Linked DNA regions of Homo sapiens: all the other regions are linked to region 1. The links are contacts of gene promoters, found by promoter capture Hi-C in human tissues and cell types (Jung and others, 2019). All regions are on one chromosome and are shown on one strand. The core of a region is centred on a gene start or on the middle of the fragment in contact, and the rest is flanking DNA. Distances in the headings are between cores, read along the strand shown.

Region 1 (4,858 bases), core at 1,276-3,775:
AGTGACTTAGAAATGAAAATACCAATTGAACAAATACAATCTGCTCACTTTGCTTCCTTGTGACCTTTTTTTAATCTCTCTGAAAAATTGCTGAATTTCCTGAGTTCAATTATTGTCTGTATTGTGTTTCAAAAATCAACATTTACTCCCCTAATGAAGTAGCCGTTCCTATATTTTGAAAGTGCAGTGGTGCCACCCACATTTCCAGCTCTCCACAGTTATAACTCTTCTTTCCTTATAAACACGTAGAATTATATCCCACATCCATTGTAGCTCATGTGTGCGTTCACGCACGTAGGGGAAAGAGATGTAGAATGATGTTTTCTGTTAGGCCACCACCAGCTTAGTTGAAGAATTAACACAGTGGATTCATAACCTTATCAAAATGACTACAATCCAGACCTTTTAGACTGAGTCTCCCTTTTGTGAAAGACAATGTCTGGAGAGGAAAATCAAGCATTGCATACTGCTCATCAAGAAAAAAAGAGAGAGTGTGTGTGGGGAGAAAGATGTGCTTGGTTCTATTAATTTGCTCTTAAATCTCTCTGGTTCAGTTCTGTCTCCTGTAGACCAAGCAGAGAATCAATTTGCATACAAATGTTACAAAGTACCCAACCTCCATACATTTGTAGTTCTATTAAATATGCAGGGGATAAAGGATCTCATATTATAAATAGAATACTTCCTGCCCTTTCCCCCATAAAGTAGCCACATTTTGATACGTTTCATAAGGCCCTGGATTGTTGTACTTTTTCATTCTATCTGACTCTCTGACTATTTGCAGTCTGATCTGTGGTCAGGACTCTGTGGCCTACAAAATAATTGTTTGAACAGGAGATTAGAAGCTTTAGCATTGGGTATCTCAGATAAGGGGGGATGCCTTTTCTTCATCTCAAGAGACATGAAAAGAGACTGAAATACAGAAACTTACTATTTGAGGGGAGGTGTCATTTAATAAACCAGCCAACAGATTAGTCAAATCAGCAATTCCTATGAACTGTAATAAAACAAAAATTATTTGCTGTTTTATGTTGGGAGAGGGTAATATTTGGTGACCACTTATTTTTAAAAACAATTTGGGGTGGGTTTTTCAAATGACTGTTAATCCAATGCCACAGTAAAATATGAGAGGCAGGCATCTAAAATGAGGAAGATTAATGATCCCTGCATGTCATGGAAGAAGAATAATGTTTTTCAATTCATATAAGTGGAATTTATCATAGCCATCTCTGAAGATGGTATGATTCACACACTTACTAAAGGACTATCTATTTCAATGCTTCTTAAAGAGGTGATTTTTCACTTTTCACTTCTACTAACATAAGAAAGACAAGTCTTCAGGCAGAAAATTTTAACCTGAGAGACAGTGGATGGGATAACTCAGCTGTTGAGTCAAATATAAGCATAAATTTAAAAACAAAGCAAATGAAGATTGCTCATGAGTTCAGGATCTGCAGCTAACAGAGTTTGGAAAGGTGGGTTGGGGAAAGAGGCAGTCAAAGTTTCAAAAGGGAAATGTTTCCCAGTATGTTCCTAAATAGATCCACTCTGCACCCAAGTTCAGGGCTTTACACACTGAGGTTATAATACTATTGTTTCCAAGCACTCAGCCTTAGTAATCCCCCTCCCTCTTCGCAGAAAAAGAAAACAACAGCAAAAAAGGACAGAAAATGAAATGATCTGTGTCCAGCGAGTTTGAGTGCAACCTTCCCCGTCACCGCTAGTTGTCACTTGGCTCCCAGACGGGAAAGCTGAGGTTTTCGGCACTGCGGTTAGGGAGAATGCAGTCCTAATTAAACTGAGTAACTCCTAAAGCTTCCCTTTAAAGTCCTCAGCCGAGTGAAAGCCAACATGCAGTGGGGCTGGGGACCAATAGTGGGGGGTGTAGCAGACAGAAGGACAAACAAACCGTAAGAAACAGGCAAACAGCTGCCAGAACAGCGACTGTCTCAGACCTCCACGCACAAGCCAGACACCCTGCGGGCGGGGGTGGGGTGGGTGGCGGGGGGTGGGAGGGGGGAGAAGGGAGACGGGGGATGGAAGGACCCGATTGCAGTGGAATACAGCACCCCTCTTCCCCAAAATGATGGGACCACGGACAGAGGTAGCCTCCGTACTCTTTCCCCCCATTTCCATCAGAGCGATGTGGTCAGTAGAAAATTGCATACCTGAAGAATACAATGGTCTCCCAAAGGTAGAGTCGAAGAGTATTGAAGCTGTACATTTTTCAGGTCCTTGTGCTTTGTAGTCCACGAGTTATGGGGGCAAAAATGTTTCAAATTGGCACTTACAAAACCAGAAAGCGCTATTGCAAAAAATAATCCAGATGTTAAAGGGAGGCGGGGAACAGGGGCGCGGAGGGAGAGCCCCAGGGGAAATTGGAGCGAGGGGGTCGTAGATACCACGGACAGCGGCGGCTGCGAGGCGTTTCAGCACCACGGAGAGCGTCCAGACCTGCTTTTCAGGAGCGCGAAGAGTATTGCTGTTTGTTAAACTCCAGCGTGTCTGTTGGCTCCCTGCGGCGCTGGGGAGGCACGTTTGGGGGTGGGTATATTTCCTTTTTTTTTTTTTTTTTTTTAAACCCCTGTTTTTCTGTTTAAACGGCCAGCTCCCTGCAAGGAAAAAAATCTTCTGTGGAGATCAGAGCGCTGGCCTCGGACCGTTGGATTGGGCGAGCATCTTGGGTAAAGAGAACAGAGCTTTATGGCTCTGGGCCGGCCTGAGGGGGTTAGGGGCGAGGGGAAAGCGGTTGACGGCGCTGCCTTCAGTTAAATCTCGGAGAGTGTGCCAGGCTGGCGCATCGCAATCCAGTCTCGGAATCTCGTTCTCCTGCCTCTGTGCGGGTCTGCTGTCGCCTTGCTATTCCTGTTTCCCGGTCCCCGCCGAATAAGTTGTGATCACTGCAGAAAAGGTGTCCCATTGCTCGGGGCCGCAGGCGTCAGAGAGCCCAGGGCAAGTTTCAGGGGCTACCGGGGTCCCTGGCTACCCCGCGGGGCTCTGAAGCCCAATGTCTCAGATGCATCTCGGTTTTCTGAGCTCGCTCATCTTCCCTTGGTCAAGACTCCTTCAGATCTTCAGACTTTCTTACTGCATTAATTTAACAAACTGGAGGCGTGGGGGATGGGAGGGGTGATAGCCGATGGGAGGGGGTTGAGGGGGAAAAAAAAAGGGGGAAAACTCCTTAGTATCTTCAAACCCTCCCACTCGAGGTGTTCATTGGCCCGCGGCTACGAAAACCAGATCTTCTCCCGGTATTCGGCCAATAGCCTGTTAGACTCCGGGTTGAATTTAACGCTTAGAGTGCTGGACGAGATCTGCGCAATCCCCTTCCTACCCCCAAGCTTCTTTCCGTGTAAGCGGTGGGGTGAGAGAGGATATGGAATTAATCTCTCTAGGTCTCTCAAAAGGTTGCCTTGATTTTTAAAGAATGCAGTTGTATGTGAGTAAAACACATGGTTCCTTGTTAAGACGTGCTCTGGGCTCAATTTATCCTTTTAAAAGGGAAGAGTTGAACCAGATCCCTGATTTTTTTTAAAAGAGCTCTGAAGTTATAATATTTGGCCCTAGAAAGAAAGGAGGAATATCCAAAAAGAAGTCTGGTGGATAAAGACCCCCTCCAGGGTCACCGCAGCAGGGAAATACGAGAGAAATTCTTTGAGCAGTTTCCAGCGTTGAGTGGGAGGTGTTGTGGCTGGCACCCTTTTGAGAGGGAATAAAAGCACCTTCTTCCAACTGGACAGGAGACAGTTTTATTCGCCTTTTATATGCTGGGGAAACTGAGCCTCACAGAGCTGTGGCTTGCTCCAAATTGATGGCAGAGCCAAGTTGTACACACAGGGATGTGTTATGACTCACATTTCGTTATTTCTTCCTCTGTTTTCCCACCTTATTTGAATCTTAGAAACCAGCTATACATTTCACTGTAAAGCCCATCTGGTGAGATGGAGTTAATCAGATTTTCCCCAAGCTGTGGGACTATAGGATAAATACTTTAAAGGATTTTCTGGCTGATTTGAACTCATTGGGACTCTGGGGACTCTCTCGCCCAAGGCTACTGAGAGAGGACAACCCCTCCTCCTTACCCAATAACGTTAGAAACTCCTTTGGCTGATCTCCCAAGAATACTCATCAGCTCAGCTCCCTCCAAGGCTAGGCCTTCTCCCAAGCAGAAAGGATCTGAAAAGTCTTGTTTACTAGCCTCTTACCAGTAGGATTTCCCCTCCCCTCCCCCTGTACTACAATAGCATACCCCACACTACCGGTTCTGTTATTGGCTCCCACAGTCTAGAATTTCCATGATATTCTGCATAGTGACTGAAAAGGAAATTTTGTTTTGAAGGTGTATATTAATATGAGTTGGATACAAATTTAAATATAATGTATAATATATGTATTTTTATATATGTAATCAAGAGCTAACCTTTATTAGCATGGTTTCTATGTGTCAGAAATTACTGTGAATTCACATAATCTCATTTACTTTTCACAGTCAAACCTTGAGGTAAGTATTATCTTTGCGTATGTGTTTGTGTACATTTGTGAGTATGCTAGGGCAAAACCAGCTTGTAGGTTACTGTGTATACAAATTTATTTATGATTTGTATCGTGCCTAATTCTGAAGTGATTTTGATATGCATATGTGTATTTGTACGTTTGTATTTGTAAATGGGTCTTTCTCTACATACACATAGATGTGTATGTATCTATGTGTGTCTTTGTGGTGGTCCTAGAAGTACTGAAACAAGCCGTAAGCTGGCAATTTTGTCCTGGTTCCTCATCTGACTAGGAAATACCTGCATAGCCAGGTGTGATGCAGTATGTGGAAATTTGTTTTTCTTTTCCTTCAAGGGGTGCTGAG
Region 2 (4,858 bases), core at 1,552-4,051, 50 kb after region 1:
TAGATGGAGAGGTCTGGGATGATTATTCTCATTTAACAGATGATAAAACAGAGAAAGTCTCTGAAAAGGAAGTGACTTGCTTGCAATAAATGGCAGAGCTAAACTAGGACCTGGAATCTTCCAACTGCAGGCTGCGAGGCTCAGGCCTAAGCCCAGAGTTACCTGAGACTCAAGGTGGGTGAGAGCAGACAGCAGGGGAAAGAATGAGAGAAAGGAAGGTGCAGGCATCCCTCAGGTGGGGAGTCCATGTGCCTGAACTTTCTGGCGGTCCTTTTAGTTGCAACCTGCTTGAGGTGATGGTTTCTCCTTGTTTCAACCCAGAAACTTTCCTGTATACTCATTCATCAGGTTCACTTTCTGCTCTGCCAGTGAGGTAGGAAAGCCAGGAAGCACTTGCTGTAGGCTTTCATTTTACTTGTTTTTCAGATGAGTGAGGAATGAAGATAGATCAGGGAGGCCAGGAGTGGGGAGGCAGAGAACATCACTGAGATACTATTAGCAGACTCTCTTCAAGAGGGTTTTAGTTAAATGAGACAAATAATAATGACATTAAAAATCTTCTGTGTCAGGGAAACTCTTTATGGCTCACAAAACGCTTCTATCTCCATTTAGCTCTTAACCCCTTTCTAGTGCTTTCCTGCTGGATTTGTTGAGGCGACAAAATGAGATAATGATATAAAGTAGTTAGAAGTACCTAACTATCGTGAGTAACTCATGTCCTCCTCTTCCTTCTTTATGCCATTACACTTGGTACAATATTTAGTGATAACATTAATTATTGCTTCCATTTATTGAGCACTTACTATGAGCTAAGAACTATGCTGAACCCTTCGCAGGCCTTATTCCATTTAATCTTCATAGCAATTCTCTAAGAAAGGGACTATGATTCCTCTCTTGTAGATGAGAATATGAAGGTTCAGAGAAGTACACTTGCTTGCTAAATACACAGTTTGTATGTGGAAGAGCTGGATTTTGAATCCAGGCTGTCTCCACACTCCCTGCTAGTAATGGCTCGGCCTCCTCAAATCAGTCTGGGTTCCTTCTATTAGCACCCTTTCCCCCAGAACAGTGACTGTCAGCCTGGGCTACCCAGTGGCTCTCAGCATGCGCTACCCATTGGAATTACCTGTTACCTCCAATGGGTAATAGGGAAGCTTTAAGAACTTGCATGCTGGGGTCCCACCCTGAGGCACAGATATGATTGGTCTGGGGTGTGGCCTGAGCCATGGGACTTTAGAAAACTCTGTAGGTGGTTCCAATGTGCAGCCAGGGTTGAGACTCTGAGTTGCAAAGTTTTAGTATCGTATTCGCCTCCTGTATTTGTCACAGGTTGGCTAGGTGTTTGCTTAATCAAGGGAACTCAGACTCAAATACCTATGGATAAGGCAAAAATGTAAAAACAGTAGTAATTAAAAAAATAGAGATAAAGTGTGATGATTGACTTAAAGTGTGGCAATTGACTTTGACCTCAGCTTTGGGAGGATACTAGGGAGTGGTGGGGAACAGTAAACTGGAGAGCCCTTGGACATCTAAAGAGGAGCCCCTCTACCCCAATCAGTTATTGCCATCTGGGCCCAGTGTGGTCAGATCTCATTTTTTTCAAAAGAAGATGGCAGTTAGTATTTATTAAGGGAAAGCTCCCTGTTTTTAAATGTGGGTGATTACTTTTAAAACAGTTAAACATCATCTGGATTAAAGATGTTTTATACCTTGTGGGCTACCAGTTTGTATTCTCTGTCTTAATTATTTTTCTCTACAAACTACTCAGATCCCTGGTTGTTAAGGTTTATTTATCTGATTTGCCATAAACCACTGTGTGTTGTTAATTTACATTAAATAATGTAATTTTTAAATTGAGAAATGTAACACTTTTATTTCATTATGGAAAATATAAAACATGCAAATTATGAACACAGAAAAATTATTGCCTTTCTACTCAGAAATAAACATGCTGTATATACTTTCAGTCTTTATTTCTCTATCATATACAGATCTTTATATATAGAACGTGTTACAAATGCAGATCCCTGAATCCCACTCTTGGGCTAATTCAGTATGTCTGGAAGTAGGCCTGGGAATCTGAATGTATAACATGTTTTGAGAAGATTATAATATATACAATTATAATTGAGATGCTCTTTTCTTAAAAATGGGCTTTAAAAACTTAATCCGTAATGAAATTTTTAAATGACATTTAGTATTCTATATAATTCTTGAAAAATTCATTTGAATATATCACAATATAAACAATGTTTTAAAAAACTGAAATGAACATCCCTCTAAATAGTTTTACATACCCATTTAATTAGGATAAATTTCTACAAGTAGAGTTGTTGGATTAAAGAATATGTACATTTTCAGGCTTCCAATATAAATGGGCAAATTGTCTTCCAGAAAGGATACAATTTTTTTTAAATTACATGTTTATTTTTTGTAGAGAGCATCAATTTTTCCATACTCCTGCTAAAACCTGGAATTCTCATCTGAAAGATCAATTTAGTAGCAGCAAATATCTTACTTTCATTTGAATTTACCTGCTGCATGCTAGAGAAGTTTAACATTTTATTTTTATTTTTTGCCATTTTTATTTCTGTTAATGATTGTCCATTTCTTATTCTTGTTATATTAAGAGTATACCTTTTTCTGTCATGTGTATCGAAACTGCTTTTTTCCAATTTAAAAATTTGCTTTCCAAAGCCTTTTTTATACTGAAGTTCTAATTCAGTATAGTCAAATCTGTAGATGTTTTTTCCTTTATGGATTCTGCATTTACTTATATGTAGGATTGTTGATACAATCTAAGTTAAAAAATTCATACATTTTCTTCTTCTTTTAAGAATTACATTTTAACTTTAATTTTTTAACCTATTGTAAATTAATTTTGGCATATAATACAAGATGTGGGTTGAAATTTTATTTGTTTTTTTTTCTGCTATTTAAATAGTCAAGTTTTCAATGTGTCTGAGTAAATTTTAACTTACTTTTTCCTAGAAAAGAAACTATTTCAATGAGATTTTTCAAATTTATTAGCCTGGAGTTATGCACAGTATTCTTTATAGTAAAAAAATTATTCTTATTTCCAATATTTTTAATTTGCTTCAGTCTCTTCCTCTGTTAGGCATTCTATAGGTATTTTTAAACATTTACATTTAATGGTTATTTGGGTAACTTAACAATTCATTAATTTTTTGCTTTTTGATTTGTTAATTTTTGCTTATCTTAGTTTATTATTTTTCTAATATTGTCTTCAATTCTTACATTTATTTCCACTTTTTCTTGTTGAGTAATGACACATAAAGTTTTAAATTTTAATATACATATAGCTTTGACCACCTCACATATATTTTGGAATGTAGTAGCCTCAAATTTTATTATTCTTGAAATAATTTGTAATAAGGATTTTGATTTCCACTTTCAAAAGTTATTCAGGAGAACATTAATAATTTCTAAGAAGTCGATATATTAAAACTTGAAACTTTAATTTCAAATTTTATTGCATTATGCTCTGAAACGTGATCTGTACATTTATTTTTGCAGCATATTGAGGTATTCATTGTGGCTTAATAAATGACAGATTTTTATGACTTTTATGAGTGCTGGAAGGAAGATATATTCCCTTATTGTAGAGTATCTAGTTTGTTAAATCAACATAATTAGTTTATGTTATTTGCATCCTTTTGTCTTAATTTTTGTTCACCTTTCCAGTCAAAGATTTAGATGTATTTAATTATCTCACTGCTAATCTTTTCTCCTCAATATCTATGTAACGTAATTTATATATTTCAAAGAAATTTCTTGGTTAATAAAAAACTAATATTTTTCATTATGCATTTTATCCTTTATATTATTATTTGTTTAATTAAAAAAAATTTTTTTTTGAGGTGTGATCTCACTCTGTCACCCGGTCTGGGGTGTAGTGGTGCAATTACAGCTCAATGCAGCCTTGACCTCCCCAGACTCAGGTGATTCTCCTACCTCAGCCTCCTGAGTAGCTGGGGCCACAGGTGGGTGCCACCATGCCTGGCTTATTTTTGTATTTTTGTAGTGCCAGGGTTCCACCAGGATGCCCAGGCTGGTCTCGAACTCCTGAACTCAAGTGATCCACCTGCCTTGCTTGGCCTCCTCAAGTGCTGGGATTATACCTGTAAGCCACTGTGCCCGGCTAAGGCTTCTTTTTAAAACTTTTTCTACTTTTCACATAATACTATTGTGAACCTGATTTCCTAATGTTTAGGTGGTCTGTCATGTCTTTCTCCATTTCTCTAACTTTTGCACTTTTTTTTTCCTTTGGTATGGGTTACTTGGTTTTAGAGATATCTCCTTTCAATAGTATGAAATTTAGTCATGTGTGTGTGTTGTGGGAAGTCACTCATTTTGAGAGTTTTTTTTTTTTTTGCCATGTAAGAGAGTTGTTAAACTGATTTATATTTATTTCTGAATGTCTATAACGGTCTTATTTATTTTTCTAATGTGAATTGTCTATTAGAAAGTAAATTTTCTTTTCTGAGAGTGAGACATAAAGGAAATTTTTGGGCAAATGAAATAAACTGAGTTTTTGGGATTAATAAATCAATTTGTAAATCTAAGGATTAATAAAAATAGAATGTTAATTTTCATGGTTTCTTGATATTTACTAAAATGGTTGAATTTTTTTCTGATCTTTTAAATGTATTTTTCTCTGTCACATGTTTTGGTTATTTTTTCCATAGGTAAAGAAAATGTATTAGTATTACTTTTAATTGACACATAATAATTGAACATATTTATGGAAAGCAGTGTGATATTTTGAACATGTATATACTATATAATGATCAAATCAGGGGAGTTAGCATATCTATCACTTCAAATATTTATCATT
Region 3 (4,858 bases), core at 1,588-4,087, 38 kb before region 1:
TGCACTCCAGCCTGGGCAACAGGGTGAAACTCTGTCTCAAAACAAAACAAAACAAAACAAAAAAACCCATTTTTTCTCTACACACTTCACATAATAACTTAATGATATCAGTATGTTAATTACCATTGGGATTTTACAGATGAAGAAACTGAGGCTTAAAGATGTGAAGCAAATAAGCTCCTCGTAGACAGAGTGAGCTCAGTGTATGTGACTCCAGAGCTGGGCTTTTAATCACCATGGGAAGTAAGGCTATATCTTTCTTTTTTAGGAATCTGTATGAAGGAATTAAGTCTCTGTTTGGTCATTATCAGGAAACGAGTGCTGATATGTGCACCTGTCCTCAAATAACCAGTTCCTTACAGAACCAGGTGGTCCACTCCCTGACTTGGCTTGATAACCATTTACCATTGAGGAAAAAGAGTGGAAGTGTCAACACTCACTGTACAGATTATGATTAATACAAATGTCAATATGCTTCTGATCTCAGAGGAGGGGAAGAAAAGCAGAGGGGCTCATTAAGAGTGCTTGTAAGACATCCATTCAAAGGTGAAAAAAACTTGGCTATTTATTTGACCTGGATATCCAGTGAAAAGCACCCATGTTTGTTCCTAGCTAACAAGTGGGACCATCTCCATTTGGAGATAAGAGGCCTGTTACTTTAGGGAGTTTCACCAGTTGTCCTTTGAATGTGGGAACAGTCTTCGTGACCATATCAAGACAGGCCACCTCACCTACTGAACTCAGTGATTTCTGCCAGCCTGGGACTGAAAGGTTGGATGTAATCTCCATAAATGCTTAGGACCAAATACTGGTTTTAATTGATAAGCAATATAATTGATTTGGTTTATTTATTTAAAAAACTGTTGAGTATCTGTTATTGAATCACTGTGCTAGCTGCTGGGGTTCCCACAGGAAATGAAACAAGATACCAGCCCCCAAGGAACTTACAGTATAGTGACAGGAGGGACACATAAGCAGGTTGGTACAGTGGTAATTGTAAGTGACAAGTGCTGTTGTGGAAACTGTAAAATGTATTATGAGAATGGACAGAAGGGACCCATCCCAGCCTTGGGTGAAGGGCACACGTGAACTCACACACACGTACGCGCATGTTACAGTGGGGAGGCTTTCTATGGAAATAATTCTAAGCTGAGTCTTAAAGGAGAATAGGAATTGGCAAGGGAAAGGAGGCTGGAGTGGGTGCTCTGGGCAGTGGCCTAGCAGCCACCACCAGAAGCCTGTAAAGCAGAGAGCGAGAGACGACCTGGCTGGAGAGCTGTAAGCAATCGGTGCAGCTAGAGTATGCAGTGGGAGAGGGAGGAAATGAAGCAGGGTGAATCACAGGGAGCCTCCTCAGCTTTGCAAAAGAACTTGGGTTTAATGCTGAGGGTGATGGGGAGCCATAGGAAGTGTTTAAATAGGAGCAGTGACGTGGTTAGATTTGTGTTTTGGAAAGGCTAGTGTGGGATAAAGTAGACTGGAAGGGGGCAAGTTGGAAGCCAACGAGAACCCTTTGCAGTCATGTAAGCCAGCCATGATGGAAGCCTGAACTAGATTAGGGGCGGGTGGATGTTCCGAAATGGATAGATTAGAGTTAACTTTAGGCTGCCCTGATTATTTTTTTTCACAAGCTAGATCACTTCCTTAACATAAGTACAATTGATTTTTCTGTTGAAAAAACAAAAACAAAAAGTCTGAGAAAAGTTTTAAAATATCATTACACTTATTCATAATTACTAATATAATATTCACCCCTTGCAGAAATTTGAAAAATATATAAATACTGTAGGAAGAAAATAAAAATTATTCATAACTTTTTAATTCAGAGATAATCATTCTTACAATTTTGGTATTTTTTTTCCTAGGCATTTCTTCTAGTGTAATAGATTCATTCTAAACTTTTTTACTGTGAAAAGTTTTAAATGTATTCAACAGTAGAGGAAATATACAATTAACCCAATATACCCATTTCAGCTTGTATAACCAGCAGTCTTCTGCCATTCTGCAGTTGAATGTTAAACTTAAAAACAGGTCTTCACATTTTCTTTTACTCTAAAAATTTGACTTGTTGTATAATTTTGTTTTTGTAATCCTGGGTGTTTGGCAGGTGCTTGCCCTGCTAGGTCTTTGGCTATTTTCAGATATTATGTATTCACTCAAAACATTTAATGTGACAGTAAAGACATCCGAGCCTCATGGTATACCACTGGAGACTTGAGAAAAACCCAGCTGATTCCCCACTTCCTTGGTGGAGACCAATGCAGAGGATAAATATTTCATGGAGAGATATCTCCAGCAGGAACTAACAGCTTGTGTTTTGACTTACTCACCATGGTTGTCTCAGCAATGGAACCAAAGCTGTTGATGAAAATGTTGCAGCTCACGTTCACTGGGGGACCTGCCAATCAAGAGAGATTCCTGCTTAGCCCCAAGGCCATGGAAGAACCCACAGGGTAGGACTCATTCCCAGAACACTGACTTCTGGAATGGATCGCCTTTGGTGGAGGAGATCCTTGCTTGCTCTCCACCCCACCCCCAAGCACCTGGGATTCCCAGCCACCATTTAACATCTCTATGCCAGACTTCCTGGTCCCCAAGTGAGCACCAGGTACAGAATACCAGAGGCTGAGCTGAGATGTACTTTCATTAACACAGGATGATTCATCAGCCGCCATATGGTTGAAATTCCTTCCCCAAGTCCCATTGGCTGCCTTTCAGCCACAAATTAGTGGCTGAAATATATTTATGTCTACAACATTTGGAGGCCATCTTGGGAATTACAAGGAACAGCAAGCTCCTTGCCTTCAACTTATGAACCAAGAATGATTGTCTGAAAGGCATTGATGGGAATTACCAGCTGAGGAATCCAGAAGGAACCTCAGGGGAAGTCCACAGACTTTGTTAAATACTTTCTGAGCAAGTCTTTTGAATCCTACTGCAAAGCGTAGGAAAGAAATGGAGGATTATTCACTGGTTTGCTGTCTCATTCCTAGAGGAGATGTTGTCTCATTGAAGCCCAATCTCTTCACTTTATAGTATTAATTATAGCAGTTGCCATTTACTAAACATTACGGGGGTTCCTGCTGTGCTGAGAGTATTATTAACATCATTTCATTTCATCATTTCAACAACTCCAGGAGAAGGTATGGTTATTACCTTCATTTTACAGGAGAGAAAACAGAGGCTCAGAGAAGCTATTTGTTCATGCCTACATAACTAGTAAATGGGTGAGTCAGAGTTTGAGTTCAGATTTGTCTAACTCCAAGGGTGCTCATCTTAATGGCTATTCTGTAGGAAACAGGTTTAGAGGAAGGAAGGGGCATGCTCACGATCACACAGACAGTGGCAGAGTCCAGAATTTTCAGCACTGGGTTTCCAAATAAGCTGACAAAAAGGGCTGACATAAAATAACCAAAGAGAAATGCAAGACCATGGGTAAGAGTGGTAAAAGCAGCAGGAGTCCAGGTGAGAGAAGTTCTGGAGAATAAGGCACGAAAGACCTCAGAAAGGTGGTGGCCTGGAGATGACTTTGAAGGTGAATAGGACTTGGATAAATGGTCACAGCCCTTCACATAAAGATTGTAATTTGCAATTTGTGATTTGCTTTTCAGGTCCACTTTCTTGATTCCTATGAGGTACTGAGGTAGACAGGGCAGAATTCTTGTTCCTACTTGACAAAGGTAGCACCAAGAGTTTTAGTAACTCACCTAGGCTCATTCAACTAACAAGTGGTAGAACCAGGACTTGAACCAAAGTTTTCTGATTGTGGAAAGAAGAAAGTAGATATGTCCTTATGCCCTCTGGCACCCATTGCATTCTGTCCCTCTTGAAAAAGTAGCCCAAGCATTTTGCTCAAACTAAGCTAGGATCAGAAGTCTTGGCATATAGGAGGGGACTCAGTCTTGGGATGAGAAACTAGGTTTTTCCTTCAAGGGATTATCAGGATTTCTGGGTTTTGGACATAACTCCAGCACTCACTGGTTGTTTACCTCGGCCATGCCTTTTCTCTGTCCTGGGCCTCAATTTCCTCATCAATCTGGAGAGAGAGTAAGTAGCTCTTGATCTAGGCGGTCATTCTCAGCTTCAGTGGTTTGGAATTCCTTTATGGAAGCTATCCATTTACATTTCAGGGTTGTAAGATTTTAGGGCTGGAAGGTTTCTTAAAGGTCACCTCATCAATTTCTTCCCAAACTGAAGTGCAGACAGGGTTATCTGCAGAAGAATCATCTGGGAACCTGTTAAACTACAGATTCTTTGGCCCAACCCCACACTAAGTAAAACCAAATCTCTGGAGGTTAGCCCAAGAGTCTAGTGTTCAGAGAGCTACCTGGGTGAGTCTCATGCACAGCCAGGTTTGGGGACCACTGCTGTAGACCAGCTACCCATTCAAGGCTGAGTGCCTGAATACTTCCAGCAGTGGGAAACTCATTTTGTCTTAAGCAGCCCTTTCCATAGTTGGATAGCTCTGTCTGCTAAATTTTTTTGTCCTTGTGTTGAGTGGAAGTCTGCCTCCTTGTCACTTCCACCTAAATAAAGCTCAGGTGGAAAAAACTTGAATGGTCAGGATTTTTCTCCTTTATTTAGACTCAGACCAGGTTTTTTTTGTTGTTGCCTCATGCCATTAAGATACCCCAAGGAGTTACTGCCTATGCCTTGAAATGATGTGCACAGAGTTCCCACCCAGTCCCTGCAAGTGTCTGGCACTGTGACTCCCATATAAATTAGTTTCTGATTTATGTGTGCGAGAGGACACTGGCCAAAAGGATCCTATGGGAAGGTGCGGTTCATTGAAATAAATCTGAAATTAAATTATCTTTGAGAAAATTACAATTTAGCTGCCTTTGGCAGCAGGATAATG

Evidence for each region. Contacts are between HindIII fragments. The study calls those that stand out against the background at their distance.
Region 2: a contact is called between a fragment that was not itself captured here and the fragment with the promoter of GLRA1 in region 1, in 1 of the 25 tissues and cell types used here (H1 embryonic stem cells).
Region 3: a contact is called between a fragment that was not itself captured here and the fragment with the promoter of GLRA1 in region 1, in 1 of the 25 tissues and cell types used here (H1 embryonic stem cells).

The regions. Positions count from the first base shown.
Region 1 is chr5:151,922,326-151,927,183 of GRCh38, forward strand. GLRA1 (glycine receptor alpha 1) reads right to left here and starts at 2,526. Exons shown (of 9, transcript NM_000171.4): 1 at 2,169-2,526. The coding sequence starts at 2,224. RefSeq lists a silencer at 2,806-3,018. The HindIII fragment of the contact is 3,327 bases long and covers 1,331-4,657 here.
Region 2 is chr5:151,972,517-151,977,374 of GRCh38, forward strand. The region is part of intron 1 of LINC01933 (long intergenic non-protein coding RNA 1933); the gene reads left to right. Among named protein-coding and RNA genes, the nearest start is that of LINC01933, 16 kb to the left of the region's middle. The HindIII fragment of the contact is 5,852 bases long and covers 1-4,858 here.
Region 3 is chr5:151,884,391-151,889,248 of GRCh38, forward strand. GLRA1 (glycine receptor alpha 1) reads right to left here. Exons shown (of 9, transcript NM_000171.4): 3 at 2,331-2,398. Among named protein-coding and RNA genes, the nearest start is that of GLRA1, 38 kb to the right of the region's middle. The HindIII fragment of the contact is 8,525 bases long and covers 1-4,858 here.